Linked DNA regions of Homo sapiens: region 2 is linked to region 1. Evidence: promoter capture Hi-C in 16 types of primary human blood cells and fetal thymus (Javierre and others, 2016). All regions are on one chromosome and are shown on one strand. Each heading gives the region's core, a stretch centred on a gene start or on the middle of the fragment in contact. The rest is flanking DNA. Distances are from core to core; before and after follow the strand shown. Region 1 holds the start of NDUFB2 (NADH:ubiquinone oxidoreductase subunit B2). Region 2 holds the start of LOC107986720 (a long non-coding RNA gene).

Region 1 (7,165 bases), core at 3,180-5,679:
CCATATTGAAATGATAAATTCCATTTTTTTTTCTAAATAGTCATCCAAAATTTAACACTTTTATTTGGAATGCTCTATTTAAGGTATTAATAACTAATTATGAATAAGGTGATTTTTAGTTTTTGCAGATGTGTGTATATATGTACTTTTTTAAGTATCATGTTTAAAAGGTCCTACCAAATATCGCCACTTTACAACTTGAATGACGTAGCATACTGTTTCCGTAATGTCCTCATATACCAATTATATTATTCATTCAGGATCTAGCTGTGCATATAGATATTACATTATGTAAATAAACCATGCAGGATCATTCAATATAGTATAACAAGAGCTTTTTTTTTTTTTTGAGACGGAGTCGCACTCTGTCACCCAGGCTGGAGTGCAGTGACACAATCTTGGCTCACTGCAACCTCTGCCTCCCAGTTCGAGCAATTCTCCTGCCTCAGCCTCCCGAGTAGCTGGGATTACAGGCATGTGCCACCATGCCCGGCTAATTTTTGTATTTTTAGTAGATACAGGGATTCGTTATGTTGGCCAGGCTGGTCTCGAACTCCTGACCTCAGGTGATCCGCCTGCCCTGACCTCCCAAAGTGCTGGGATTATAGGCGTGAGCCACACTGTGCCCGGCCAAGAGCCTTCTTCTTTGATAGCTTTTTGATACAATCTAGGTATAAGTGCCCAGCAGTAAAACTGATTAAAACAAGATTTGAAGGCCGGACACGGTGGCTTATGCCTGTAATCCCAGCATTTTGGGAGGCCGAGGCAGGCGGATCACCTGAGGTCGGGAGTTCGAGACCACCCTGACCAACGTGGAAAAACCTCGTCTCTACTAAAAATACAAAATTAGCTGGGCATGGTGGTACATGCATGTAATCCCAGCTACTCAGGAGGCTGAAGCAGGAGAATCACTTGAACCTGGGAGACAGAGGATGTGGTGAGCTGAGATCGTGCCATTGCACTCCAGCCTGGGCAACAAGAGCGAAATTCTGTATCAAAAAAACAAAAAAGATCTGAGTAATGCCGATGCCAGCATTATAGTTCAAACCCATCTTAGCAGCTCCCCACGCTTCGTTATTGCTAGAGTGACATGTTGTTTTAATCATAACCTGAAGTAGGGACTGCAAAATGGAAACCTTTTGGAACAAAGATTTGAAAGTCTGCAATTATATCACAGGAACAATGACAAGGATTGCCATGATTAAGGAATGCAAAGACTCAACACCTAATTCACAATGTTATGTTCCAAACCAGGTTGTGAACTGCATTGTGGCAAACTAGATACCCTGAACAACCCTCCAAATTAACAACTCTGCTGCTAGATGAGATTTTTAAGATTTTTACAAACATCACTGACCAGGCACAAAAGGAAGGAATCCACCAAGAGCAAAATTCAAGTAAAAACAAGGCCTGGAAGCTAAGCAATCAATCACTGAAGCTGCCTTCACCGGGAGCCCTTGAACCTCCACCAGGATAGCTACATGAGGTGTGGGGAAAGAGACGCAGCCTGGGGCCCACCCAAGGTGGGAAGGCTAATGACGAGGTCACTGAATAAAGCTGCAACCCCATATGGTAAAAGGGTGAACAAGAAATAAACCTTCCATGGACAAGGGAACAAGAATTTGTTATCAGAAGCCAGTCCTCAGGTAGATTTGCACCCAAATTCACATTACCTGCGTTGGACCTGTGTGGACCAAAAACCCCAAGCCGAGAATTTAATGTGAGCCTGAATTGGGGTGGCACCCTCAAGAGACTAAGAGAAGCACGATCTCAAAGAAATTCCAGGGAAAACAAGCTCAAGATCAAAAAACATAAGGAAGTAAGACACTATCAGCAAGTCCTGTAAGAAGGAAAGAGAATGGGGAAGAAACAACATCCAAGGAAATAATGGCTGTTCCAACTTCAAATGTTTGAGAGTCAAGTTTAAAAACAAAAATGCACCATAACTCTATTAGTTACATTTTTATTTTTATTTTTTTGAGACGGGGTCTCACTCTGTCACCCAGGCTGGAATGCAGTGGCACGATCTCGGCTCACTGCAACCTCTGCCTCCTGGGCTCAAGCAATTCTCCTGCCTCAGCCTCCCCAGTAGCTGGGATTACAGGCGCACACTACCATGCCCAGCTAATTTTTGTGTTTTTAGTAGAGATGGGGTTTCACCGTGTTGGCCAGGCTGGTCTCGAACTCCTGACCTCAGGTGATCCGCCCGCCTCAGCCTCTCAAAGTGCTGGGATTACAGGTGTGAGCCACCGCGCCTGGACAAAGTTACATTTTTAAAAAATAAATCAGACCACATTACTTTCCTGCTTTAAAACTCCAATGGCTCCCTGTGATTCTTAGAATAAAATTCCGAGTCCTCCAAAGCCCCCTCTAATCCGGCCCCCACACTTGTCCCTGTGACCTGGTCTCTCCCACTCTTCCCCTACGCTCCACTCCAGCCTGGCCTCCTGCCAACCCTGCGGGCTCTGGCCTCTCCACCTGATGCCTCCTCTGCCCTCTTATGTCCACCGGGCTCTTCCCTTGAGGTCTCTGCATGGCTGACTTCTCATCCCTCAGGTCCCGCTTCAAATCACACTCCCAGGCATTCCCACGCCATCCCCAAATACAATATCCCTTCTACTCCCACACCACGCATTCTCCATATTAATCCCCAGCTGTATTCTCTTCATAACCCTTAACAGTACTCAAAAAAGGTCTTTCTTTTCTACTGGTCTCTCCTCTCCAGAATGTACACTTCATTCTCTCTCGTATTCTGCTATATCCTCAGCACCTAGAAAGGAGCAGCCATATAGAAGATGCTCCATAAACATTTATGCACTTAATTATCACACACTCTGAAACAAGTGTGTGTTACGAACAAGCCAGCACCTCAGGGAAGATCGGCATTCCCCCATCTCCTCATGCAGGACCAAGGGCTGTCGCTCATGGCTCTCCATCACTGTCTTTGCCCAAGTCACACAGGGCTTTGCCTTCTGCCCACCCCACACCTGCCCCAGCTCCAGATTCTTCATCCATGTGGGACTTCAGGCAAGTCACTCCTTTCATTTCCTGGGCCTCAGTTCCTTAATAACAACAACAGTTAAAGAATACTTGTACGGTCCTTAGCAGGCACCAGCAATTGTTTTAAACACTTTAGTGAGACCAAGCGCAGTGGCTCGCCTGTATTCCCAACACTTTGGGAGGCCGAGGCTGGAGAATCACTTGAGCCCAGGAGTTAGAGGCTGCAGTGAGCTAGGATCGCGCCACTGCACTCCAGCCTGCCTGACAGAGTTAGACCCCATCTCCTAAAACACACAAACACGCTTTAGATAACAGTAACTCATTTAGTTCCTTGCAAATGGACGCCAAATGGGTGAGGAAACTGAGGCATTAAGAGAATAAGAAACTTTTCCAAGGTCCCACAGCTGGAGTGTGGCAGAGGTGGGATTTGAACCCAGCCACTGTGCGGCCAGAATCCCGCTTGGAATCACGACCCCACACTGCCTCTTGGTAAAGTGTAGCTGATGATCTAAGGGACCTGGAATCATCCATGACTCTTTTCCAGTCCTGCTCTTACGGAATCTCTGCACACCACTAACTCGGCTTCGGCAGCTGCTCCCTACCTCGCACCCGCTCCCTACCTCGCACCCCCAGCCCTCCGCCCTCCGGTCTGCGTCTCGGGCCACCTCGCGGGCGGCTCTGCCTGTCACTCTCCTAAACGCCACGGCTGCCCCAGCGTTGGCTTCCGGCTTTCTGCTCCTCTCACCCGACGGCGCTCTCTCTGGGCGACAGCCTCCACTCCCTGCAGCCAGAGTGATTTTTCAGCATTAAAAAGCGGCCACGTGACGTCTCCGATTAAAGGCTGCCGAACAGACTCTACCCTAAATTCCGCAGCCAGGCACCGGGACCCTGGACCGCGCCCTCCCTAGGCCTCACCGCCGCCGCCCCCCGCCTCGCTCCAGGAGCGTCCACACCCGCCGCGCACGCTGCTTCCTCCGCCTGGACCGCCCGCGCCGGCGCCGACTGGCTCAGCCCGCTCCGCATTCACGCGTGCGTCTCCCGAGGGCAGGCGGCCCCTACTACCATGACGGCCCTGCACACGGTGTCCCATCTGCCCAGCGAAGTCTCTCCCTCTCCCTCCGGCCAGCGGGGTCCCTCTCCTCGAGTCGCGGCTTCAGGAGACACGCGGACTACAGGTCCCAGCATGCCTCGGGACGCGGCCTCTTCAGGCGCCCCAGTCAAGGTGAGAGCGTCCCAGGGACCCGCGCTGTCCGCTACAGGCCGGCGAGGCCCCCATCCCCAGCCCCACACTCACTGACGGACTCCACCATCTCCAGCAGTCCGTGCGCAGCCGCTTCTGAAAAGGCGGCCTCCAACGCGAGCGAAAGACGCCAGCCGAGTCAGAGCGGACATACTCGCTCCCGTCCGCCCCGCGGTCCCCAGCCGCCTCGCCCCTGCCTACTTCGCTTCCCCGGCGCTCCGCCCGCGCCTCCCGTGACGTCACAGAGTCGCTCATCTCCAGGAGTGGGGGAGCCGGCAGCCGCTCCTGACCCAGATTAGCTGTGAGTCCTTCGGCTGCAGGAAACCTCTCTCCCGAGAGCAAAGCCCACGCATAACTTATGGTTGCTGAGCTGCCCCATGCCTTCTGAAACAGCTTGTTGGTTGCCCCTCTGATCCTGTAGGGCTCTCCCCGTGTTCTGCCCCTCCTAAAACTGAGTGGTGTATAATTCTTTTTTTTTTTTTTTTTTCTTTTTGAGACAAGGCCTTGCTCTGTCACCCAGGCTGGAGTGCAGTGACACCATCTCGGCTCACTGCAACCTCTGCCTCCCAGGCTCAAGCGATTCTCCTGCCTCAACTTCCCGAGTAGCTGGGATTACAGGCATTGTGCCAGGCTAAGTTCGTACGCAGCAATAGATAATGCCACAAATGGCTTGATTCGATCCACTGGCTTTAAGGCTGGGTTGGCATAGGCTCAGGGAAGAGACTGCCGTCTTTTTGTCCCTTTCCCGCCTCCACACTGTACCTGATGCGCACTGGCACGAGGGGCTGCGTGACCAGCTGGTGTTCTCCCTCCCAGCCATCTGGAGCCATCCCAACCCCTCTCTGCCTGCTTTGAATGTCCCCTCAAGACCTGGGAAGGAAAAAATAACATCACCTCCTTGAAAAAAACTGCACCAAAGGAATCTCTGTCCACCTAAACCATACTGCTCACTAAAAGACAGGAATGAGGAACTTTATCCTGGAGAAGGAAAGAATGGGAGAAACTAGTCCTGTAGTCAGGGCAGGACTCTCGGAGAGCGCAAGGGCTTGACTCCATTCGCTGCCTGGTGGTCTCTAAGACGAGCAACATAATCTATGAAGGTGCAGGGATAAACTGTGATTTTACCTAAAAAAAAAAAAAAAGAGAAATTAAGCTTTACAAATACCCCCCCTCCAGGCTGACCCCGGGCCCCTCCTAGTCAGCCAGACGGCCACATCAGCTCAGCTCTGAGAAGAAAGCCCGTGGTTGGGCCTGGCAGAGAGGGGCAGGTGGTGGTCACTGCAGGTCTGTCCCTGGGCGCTGCCATGGAGAAGAGGACACACTGGTTATATTAACTCTCTTCATATTCACCAAAATTAATGCCTGCAAGTGGACAGGCGCAGACACTGTGGCAGAGAAACTGTAGTTCCGGACTAGCGGGTGAACCCGGGGCCATGTTAAGGAAGTGGCCAAGCCGTTCTGCTCACGTCCCCGGTATGTCAGCCACTTTCATCAGTTTTGTTTTACCTTGTAATAAAAGTTACCAAGGAGTTAGCAAAATCTATTAAAAATTACCAAGAAGATAATTTGAAGTACAATGAAATTTGCCCTAAGTGTATATTATGCTGGCAGGTAGCACCTGCATGATATTTATACATAAAGAGTGTGTGTGTGTGTGTGTGTGTGTGCACATGCCACAGATCAGTAGGACTTGATGGCATTTTCTAACCTGAATATCAAAGTCTGGGAACTACCAGCAGTACCCATCTGACCAGGGAGTATAGCGGGTCAAGAAATGAGAAAAACAGGAAAACAAAATAAATTTATTCGTCCTCCTCCACATAACATTTTCCCTGAAGGAGAGTGTCCCTGGCACCTGGCCCAGCTTCCACAATGGAATGGATAGGCCCCTTCCCTCCTTTTACTCCCTAATTGGCCCAAAGCTTTTGAACAGACCCTCAAACCAAGCAGAGGAAGCCATGGTGTGCCTTCCACCACTGGAGGGTTACATTTGAAATTGGTGTCCCAATTTTAAAACGTCCCAGCTGCCATAGGAGAGGCTCTTGGGAGTGGCCTCCAGCTCTTGACAAGGGCCCACAGAGGCCACTGCCCCATCACGGGGGGCACACTGGGCCCGTGAGGAGGAAGGGCCTCGCTGCCTCCAGGATGTCCAGTTTGGGGTCCAGTGAGCGGCCAAGCCCCTCCAACACCATGATGGCAAACACAATGGAGGCAAAGTTGCTCTCAAGCTTTACCTGGAACAGAAAAACAGAACAGTTCATCTCAGAACATGCTGATACAGGGACGTGTGTTCTGGATAATCACCTTGCTGTCCACTCTCAGCCTCCCTCAGACCTGCCCACGGGATGTTTACCATCTACCTGACATTCTCTTCTCTACCGCGTCATCTCCCCAACCATCTCACCTACTCGCCCAGCCTCCCATCTACTGGACACACTAAGGAAAAATCTAGGGGTGCGGAATATACTTTTCTAGGTTTGTGTCCATGTGTGTATGAATGAATGACCAAATAAATCTTTCACACACATCCCAGAAACTATACATTTAAATACAGGTAATTCTTCGAAACCTACAGTAACCTTTATGTATGTATGTATTTATTTATTTATTTTAGAGACAGGGTCTCACTCTGTCACCTAGGCTGGAGTGCAATGGCAAGATCATAGCTCACTGCAGCCTTGAGCTCCTGGACTTCAGGGATCCTTCTGCCTCAGCCTCCTGAGACTGGGACTCTTTTTTGTAAACAGAGGGTCTTGCAATGTTGACGAGGCTGATCTCGAACTCCTGGCCCCAAGCAATCCTCCCACCTTGGCTGCCCCAAGTGCTGGGATTATAGGCAGGAGCCATGTCAGCTGGTCTACAATAGCCTTTTTAAGAGACAACACACAGGCCGGGCGTGGTGGCTCACTCCTGTAATCCCAGCCC
Region 2 (7,165 bases), core at 2,418-4,917, 300 kb before region 1:
CTACAGGCGTGCGCTACCACACCCAGCTAGTTTTTTTGGTTTTTGTTTGTTTGAGACAGAGTCTCGCTCTGTCGCCCAGGCTGGAGTGCAGTGGTGCGATCTCGGCTCACTGCAAGCTCTGCCCCCCGGGTTCACGCCGTTCTCCTGCCTCAGCCTCCGGAGTAGCTGGGATTATAGGCGCCCACCACCACGCCCGGCTAATTTTTTTGTGTGTTTTTAGTAGAGACGGGGTTTCGCCATGTTGGCCAGGCTGGTCTCTAACTCCTGACCTCAAGTGATCCACCTGCCTCGGCCTCCCAAAGGGCTGGGATTACAGGCGTGAGCCACCCGGGCCTGCTTCACTCTTACTGTAAGTTGTATCACTTAATCACTACAACGGCTCTAAGAGGTAAGTATTATTTTCCCCCATTTTATACACAAACAAGTTCAGAGCTGTGGTTCTCAACTCTGGTTATGCATTAGAATCAAGATTCCTGTCACCGGTCCCCCTCCAGACTAATCAGAATAGGGGTAGATAGAGAAAAGCTCCTTAGGTGGCTCTACTGTGCAGCCAAGGTTAAGAAATATGGTTGGCCGGGCGCGGTGGCTCACGCCTGTAATCCCAGCACTTTGGGAGGCCGAGGCGGGCGGATCACGAGGTCAGGAGATCGAGACCATCCTGGCTAACACGGTGAAACCCTGTCTCTACTAAAAATACAAAAAATTAGCCAGGCGAGGTGGCGGGCGCCTGTAGTCCCAGCTACTCCGGAGGCTGAGGCAGGAGAATGGCGTGAACCCCAGGGGGCGGAGCCTGCAGTGAGCCGAGATTGCGCCACTGCACTCCAGCCTGGGCGACAGCGAGACTCCGTCTCAAAAAAAAAAAAAAAAAAAGAAAAAGAAATATGGTTTAACACAGTATTTCTCAAACTTAAGTATTCATCAGCAGCATCTTGAGGGTTTGTTCAACATAAATGGCTAAGCCCCACTCCCAGTTTCTTGTTCAATAGATCTCCAACAAGGCCCAAGAATTTGTATTTGTAATAGGTTCCCAGGTGTGGCTGATGATGCTGGTCTGGAGATCACACTTTGAGAACTATGGTTTAAAGTAACTTGGCCAAAGTCCCCCAGCTGGTAGATTCCTGTGGCCCTCTAGCTCCCTAGTGGAATTCCATAGCCATCCTGGAGCCTTTCCCTAACCCTAAAGGAGCACATCTTTAGAACCTGACAGCAAAACAAACAAAAAACAAAACAAGATGTAACACATAAGGAGAAAGTTTTAGTTAACATGCCCAAGTAAAGATGTTGTTTGGACCATGGAGCAGGGCACCCACCAGGGCTGCCAGCTGCTGTGTGAAAGGTGCCTGTCAGGGATATGACAAGCAGGCTGAGATCTGGTTCAGCAACATCACAGCCAAAGCTGTTGCTGATGCTATTAAAACAAGCCTTGGACCAAAAGGAATGGGAAAAAAGATTTAAGGTGGAAAAGGCAATGTGATCACTACAAATGATGGTGCCACCATTCTGAAACAAATGCAAGTGTCACATCCAGCAGCAGAATGCTGGGGGGGCTAAGATATAGAAGCAGGAGATAGCACTGCATCAGTTGGCACTATTGCTGGCTCTCTCATAGGTTCCTGGGCCAAGCTTCTTCAGAAAGGGATTCATCCAACCATCACTTCCAAGTCATCCCAGAAGTCTTTGGAAAAGGGTATTGAGATCTTAAGTAACATATCTCAACCTGTGGAACTGAATGACAGAGAAACTTTGTTAAACAGTGCCACCAGTTCTTTGAACTCACAGGTTGTCTTTCAGTATTCAAGTTCTGCTTCCTCCGACGAGTGTAAATGCAGTGATGAAAGTGACCCAGCTACAGGTACTACTGTAAATCTTAGAGATATTAACATACAGTCATGTGTCATGTAACAGTATTTCAGTCAACAACAGACTGCATATGACAGTGGTTATAATGCCATGTATTTGCTGTACATTTTCAATGTTTAGATATGTAGTATTCAGTATAGTAACATGCTGTACATGTTTATAGCCTACAAGCAATAGGCTATACTATGTAACTATGTGTGTAGTAGGCTATACCACCTAGGTTTGTGTAAGTACACTCTATGATGTTTGCATGACAAAATGACCTAACAATGCCGTTCTCAGATTGTACCCCATTGTTAAGCAATATATGACTGCGGTTAAGAAACTTGGTGGAAAAATTGATGACTGTGAGTTGGTGGAAGGTCTTATTCTCACCCAGAAAGTGGTAAATTCTGGCATAACCCAATTTGAAAAGGCTAAGATTGGGCACATTCAGTTTTGCTTATCTGCTCCCAACAGATTTGGAAATCAAGTAGCAGTTTCTGACAATGTTCAGATGGACTAAATGCTATGAGAGAGAGAGCCTATATTTTAAGTTTAGTATAGCAAACTTTTACAAATGGGATATAATGTCCTTCTCATACAGGACACTTTAGAGACGCTCCTAGTGATCTTGCATGACATTTCCTGAACAAAATTATTATGTTGGTTAAGAATATTGAAAAAGAAGATGTTGAATTCATTTGTAAGACAATTGGAACCAAGCCAGTTGCTCGTACTGACCAAGTCACACTGACATGCTGGGTTTTGCTGAGTTAGCTGAGAAGGTCAGTTTAAATGGTTCTGGAAAACTGCTCAAGACTACAGGCTGTACAAGTGCTGGAAAAACAGTTAAAATTGTCATAGGACTGAAGAATTGAGCCTTCCATTCACGATGTGCTATGTATTATTTGCTGTTTGGTGAAGAGAGCTCTTACTGCAGGAGGTGGTGCTCCAGTAGAATTGGCCCTATGGTTAACTGAATGTTTGTGAACATTGAGTGGTATGGAATTTTACAGTGTTCATGTTTTGCAGATGCTATGGAGGTCATTCCAACTACACTAGCTGAAAATGCTGGCTTTGAATCCCATTTCTACAGTAACAGAACTAAGAAATCAACATGCCTAACAAGAAAAAAATTGCAGGCATTAGTATCAAAAGGGCAGTATTTCCATTTTGGAAAACTGGTTGCCCAACTTTTGTGATTTCATTTATTGCTCTGACCCTAGCAAATGAAACTGTCCAGAGAATTCTGAAAATTGATGCTGTGGTAAATGCTCAGAAATCTGGATAATACTGACTGACTTACACTCTTATAGCTACTAGTATTGTGGCTGAAGGGGAAGATCACCTTAGTGCTCCTTATTATTTGGAAGATTGTTTCCTCTATGAATTCCTGGGCTTGGTCTTCCAATTGGCATTTGCTTGAAATTGCATTGATACAATTTAGTGAACACATTAAATATTTGGTTTCCCAAAAAGATAATTATTTACATTTAATTTATATAATTTATCTTATAATTTTTATCAAAATTTTAATAGACATTTTTGGAGTGCAGTTGGAAAAACAATCCATTTGGAAAACCAAATAGGAGAGAACACAAGAGAAATTGTAAAATGCAAGAATAATGTGGGGACCCATATGAGATGTTGAAAATTATGTAATTAAAATTGATTTTTAAAAATCAGACCACTGACATTGGTGGTCTCAAAGAGGTATTTGTACACTCATGTCTACAGTGACATTATTCAGACAAATGGTCTGCTTCTGAACACAGAAGTGCATACAAAGAGGTAGCCATTGTTGTTGCACCTCCTCCTATTCTTGCAAGCCCCTCTGCCTTTAGCTGAAGTGACTTCAGGGGATTTAAAGGGTAAGAACCCTCTTTTCTCCTCTATTTTTCTCATTTTACCCTTTTGGGAGCCAGGCATTTTGTCACTACAAAAAAATACAAAAGTTAGCTGGACGTGGTGGCATGTGCCTGTGCCTCTAGTCCCAACTAATCAGGAGGCTGAAGCAGGAGGATCAATTGAGCCCAGGAGGTTAAGTCTGCAGTGAGCCATGTTCAAGCCACTGCACTCCAACCTGAGCAACAGGAAAAAAAATACACACACACACACACACACACACACACACACACAGAAATGATAAAGGAATTTAAACATTTCTCTAAAAAAAATAAAGGAAAGTTATATAAAAATTAAAAGAAAATGAGGAACTAAAAAGCCATAAGGCATGTAGAAAACATAGCAAAATAACAGAAGTCCCTGCTTATCAGTAATTACTTTAAATACAAATGGATTAAAGTCTCTAATCAAAAGACAGAGATTAAAAGAATGGATAAAAACACATGATCCAACTATATGCTGTCCATAAGAGACTCACTTTAGATCCAAAGATACACGTAGAATGAAAGTGAGAAAATGGAAAAAGATATTCCATGAAAATATTAACCAAAAGAGGATGTCTCTATTGCCTAGAATCTGACTCAGTTGGCATCACTAAATTTTTGTTGAATGAATGAAAGAAATATCCAAACTCACCTGGATTGAAGAATAAATGAGGTACATTTTTCTCATTATATTAAAAGAGAAAGTAAGAATAAAAGGAAAGAGAGTAGGAGAGACAGAAGGATGGAGGGAAGAATAAAGAGAAAGATAGATGAATGATAATCCATTTGAATTGACAATATGATTTAGTAGAACTGGAAAAATTGGTGGCAGTGTGTTTAGTTTAAACTTACTGAAAAAAAATCTGGCAGCATGTATACTTAGCTGTTAGTAATATCCATGTTTTTTGACTCCAAAATGCAAGTCGTAGACCTTGTTTTCTTTTTTTTTTTTTTTTTCTGGGGATTGAGTCTTGCTCTGTCACTCAGGCTGGAGTGCAGTGGCACGATCTCGGCTCACTGCAAGCTCCGCCTCCTGGGCCCACACCGTTCTCCTGCCTCAGCCTCCCAAGTAGCTGGGACTACAGGTGCCTGCCACCACGCCCAGCTAATTTTTTTTTTTTTTTTTTTTTGTATTTTTAGTAGAGACGGGGGTTTCACCATGTTAGCCAGGATGGTCTCGATCTTCTGACCTCGTGATCTGCCCTCCTCGGCCTCCCAAAGTGTTGGGATTACAGGCGTGAGCCACCACGCCTGGCTGACCTTGTTTTCTAAATACTATTCTCCAACAAAAGAAATTGTGGTTCCTTGGAAAAATAGTGGATTCCAGAGTTGGGAGAGGTTAAGACACAAATTATGCTAAAAAGTGATGAAGTGCCCCCCCATAAAAAAAAGGATGGGGATCTTGTCGAAAGGGCACGAGAGCCAAACTGAAAGAGCCCCCTATGGCCAAGGCTGAAACAATTTGAGCAACAAAATAAATAAGAATACTACTGGATTAAGCATAGTACTATATTATGATAGTACTAGATTAAAACCCAATGGTTAAATAAAAATCTTTGAGTCCATACAGTATAAATAAATTGAGGAGAAGGTACTTTACTTTACAGAAGAATTCCAATTGTAAAATGTAAGGAATAAGGAAATAGAAAATCTCGGTTAGAATATCGCAGTAATAATAACTGCAAGCAGTATCCACTGATGGATGCTAAAACTGATGGGCAAAAGTTTAAGGAGAAGCAGGATATTTGTATGCTCTCAAAGTATCCCCCCCACAAAAAATATTATTTACAAAGAGAAAAGTAGTAACTTTACGGTGGAAAAAAATTTCTTAGTTTTGATAATTATACTCTGGTTATAAGATGTTAACATTAAGGGAAGTTGGGTGAAGAATATACAGGAATTCTCTGTATATTTTTGCAACTTTTTGGTAAGTCTAAAATTTTATTTAAAATTTTTTGAATTGTACTTTCAAAAAGCTTTTTTGGCTGGGCACAGTGGTTCATGCCTGTAATCCCAGCACTTTGGGAGGCCGAGGCAGGTGGATCACCTGAGGCCAGGAGTTCGAGACCAGCCTGGCCAACATGGTGAGACCCTGTCTCTACTAAAAATACAAAAATTAGCTGAACGTGGTGCACACCTGTAGTCCCAGCTACTTGGGAGGCTGAGGCAAGAGAATCGCTTGAACCCAGGAGGCAGAGGTTTCAGTGAGCTGAGAACACACCATTGCACTCCAGCCTGGGCAATAAAGCGAGACTCCATCTCAAAAAAAAAAAAAAAGTTTGTTTTTTTTAAATATGTTTCAGGAAAAAAAAATTGACACAGGGTCTTGTTCTATCACCCAGTCCGGAGGTCAGTGGTGCAATCATGGCTCAATGGCAGCCTCAACCTCCTGGGCTCAAGCAATCCTCCCACCTCAGCCTCTCAAATACCTGGCACTACAGGTGCATGCCACCACACCCAGCTAATTCTTTTACTTTTTGTGGAGCCAGGGTCTCATTATATTGCCCATGTTGGTATTTAAGACTATTTTAAGACAACATAGGCCAAACACAGTGACTCACGCCTGTTATCCCAGCACTTTGGGAGCACTGTGGGAGGATCACTTGAGCCCATGAATTGGAGACCAGCCTGGGAAACAAAGTGAGACCCCGTCTCCACAAGAAAATTAAAAATTAGCTGGGCATGTTAGTGTGTGCCTGTGATTCCAGCTACTCAGGAGACTGACGTGGGAGGATCGCTTGAGCCTGGGAGGTTGAGGCTGCAGTGAACTGTGTTTGGGCCACCGTACTCTAGGCTGGGCAACAGAGATCCTGTCTCAAAAAATTTTTTAAAAATGAATATACGAGTTCATGTATAGAATGCTGTCAGTTATCAAAAGAAAAATGCAAATGAACAAAAAGACTGGAGGAACTATGCCCAAATATTAACATTTGTTGCTTATGAGAGATGAGACTATGGTTGGTTTTCTTTTCTACACTTTCTGAATTTTCCGTCACGAATGCTTACCATTTCATAATAATATGCAAAAAAAAAAACCAAAAAACGTTAAAAGAGCTAAAGGAGGGCGGGGCATGGTGGATTATGCCTGTAATCCTAGCACTTTGGGAGGCCAAGGCAGGTGGATTGCTTGAGCTCAGGAGTTTGAGACCAGCCTGGGCAATATGGTGAAACCCCGTCTCTAGAAAAAAAATACAAACATTACCTGGGTGTGGTGGTGCATGCCTGTAGTTTCAACTACTTGTTGGGGCTGAGGCAGGAGGATTGCTTAAACCTGGGAGGTCGAAGCTGCAATGGGCCAATATCACACCACTGCACTCCAGCCTGGGGGACAAGGTGAGATTCTTATTCAAGAAAAAAGACAAGGCCATGCATGGTGGCTCACACCTGTAATCCCAGCACTTTGTGAGGCCAAGGCAAGAGAATCTCTTGAGTCC

What was found. Contacts are between HindIII fragments. The CHiCAGO score rates a contact against its expected background, and 5 or more counts as called.
Region 2: a contact is called between a fragment that was not itself captured here and the fragment with the promoter of NDUFB2 in region 1, in 1 of 17 cell types (erythroblasts). The highest score is 5.5, in erythroblasts.

What each region holds. Positions count from the first base shown.
Region 1 is chr7:140,693,972-140,701,136 of GRCh38, reverse strand. It overlaps NDUFB2 (NADH:ubiquinone oxidoreductase subunit B2), which reads right to left and starts at 4,429. Exons shown (of 4, transcript NM_004546.3): 1 at 4,295-4,429. The coding sequence starts at 4,392. NDUFB2-AS1 (NDUFB2 antisense RNA 1) reads left to right here and starts at 4,060. Exons shown (of 2, transcript NR_024454.1): 1 at 4,060-4,222; 2 at 4,317-5,801. It overlaps ADCK2 (aarF domain containing kinase 2), which reads right to left. Exons shown (of 8, transcript NM_052853.4): 8 at 6,027-6,474. The coding sequence ends at 6,334. RefSeq lists an enhancer at 4,111-4,420. The HindIII fragment of the contact is 6,958 bases long and covers 1-5,395 here.
Region 2 is chr7:140,993,908-141,001,072 of GRCh38, reverse strand. It overlaps LOC107986720 (a long non-coding RNA gene), which reads left to right and starts at 4,321. Exons shown (of 3, transcript XR_001744994.2): 1 at 4,321-4,404. It also overlaps the pseudogene CCT4P1. The HindIII fragment of the contact is 4,084 bases long and covers 1,626-5,709 here.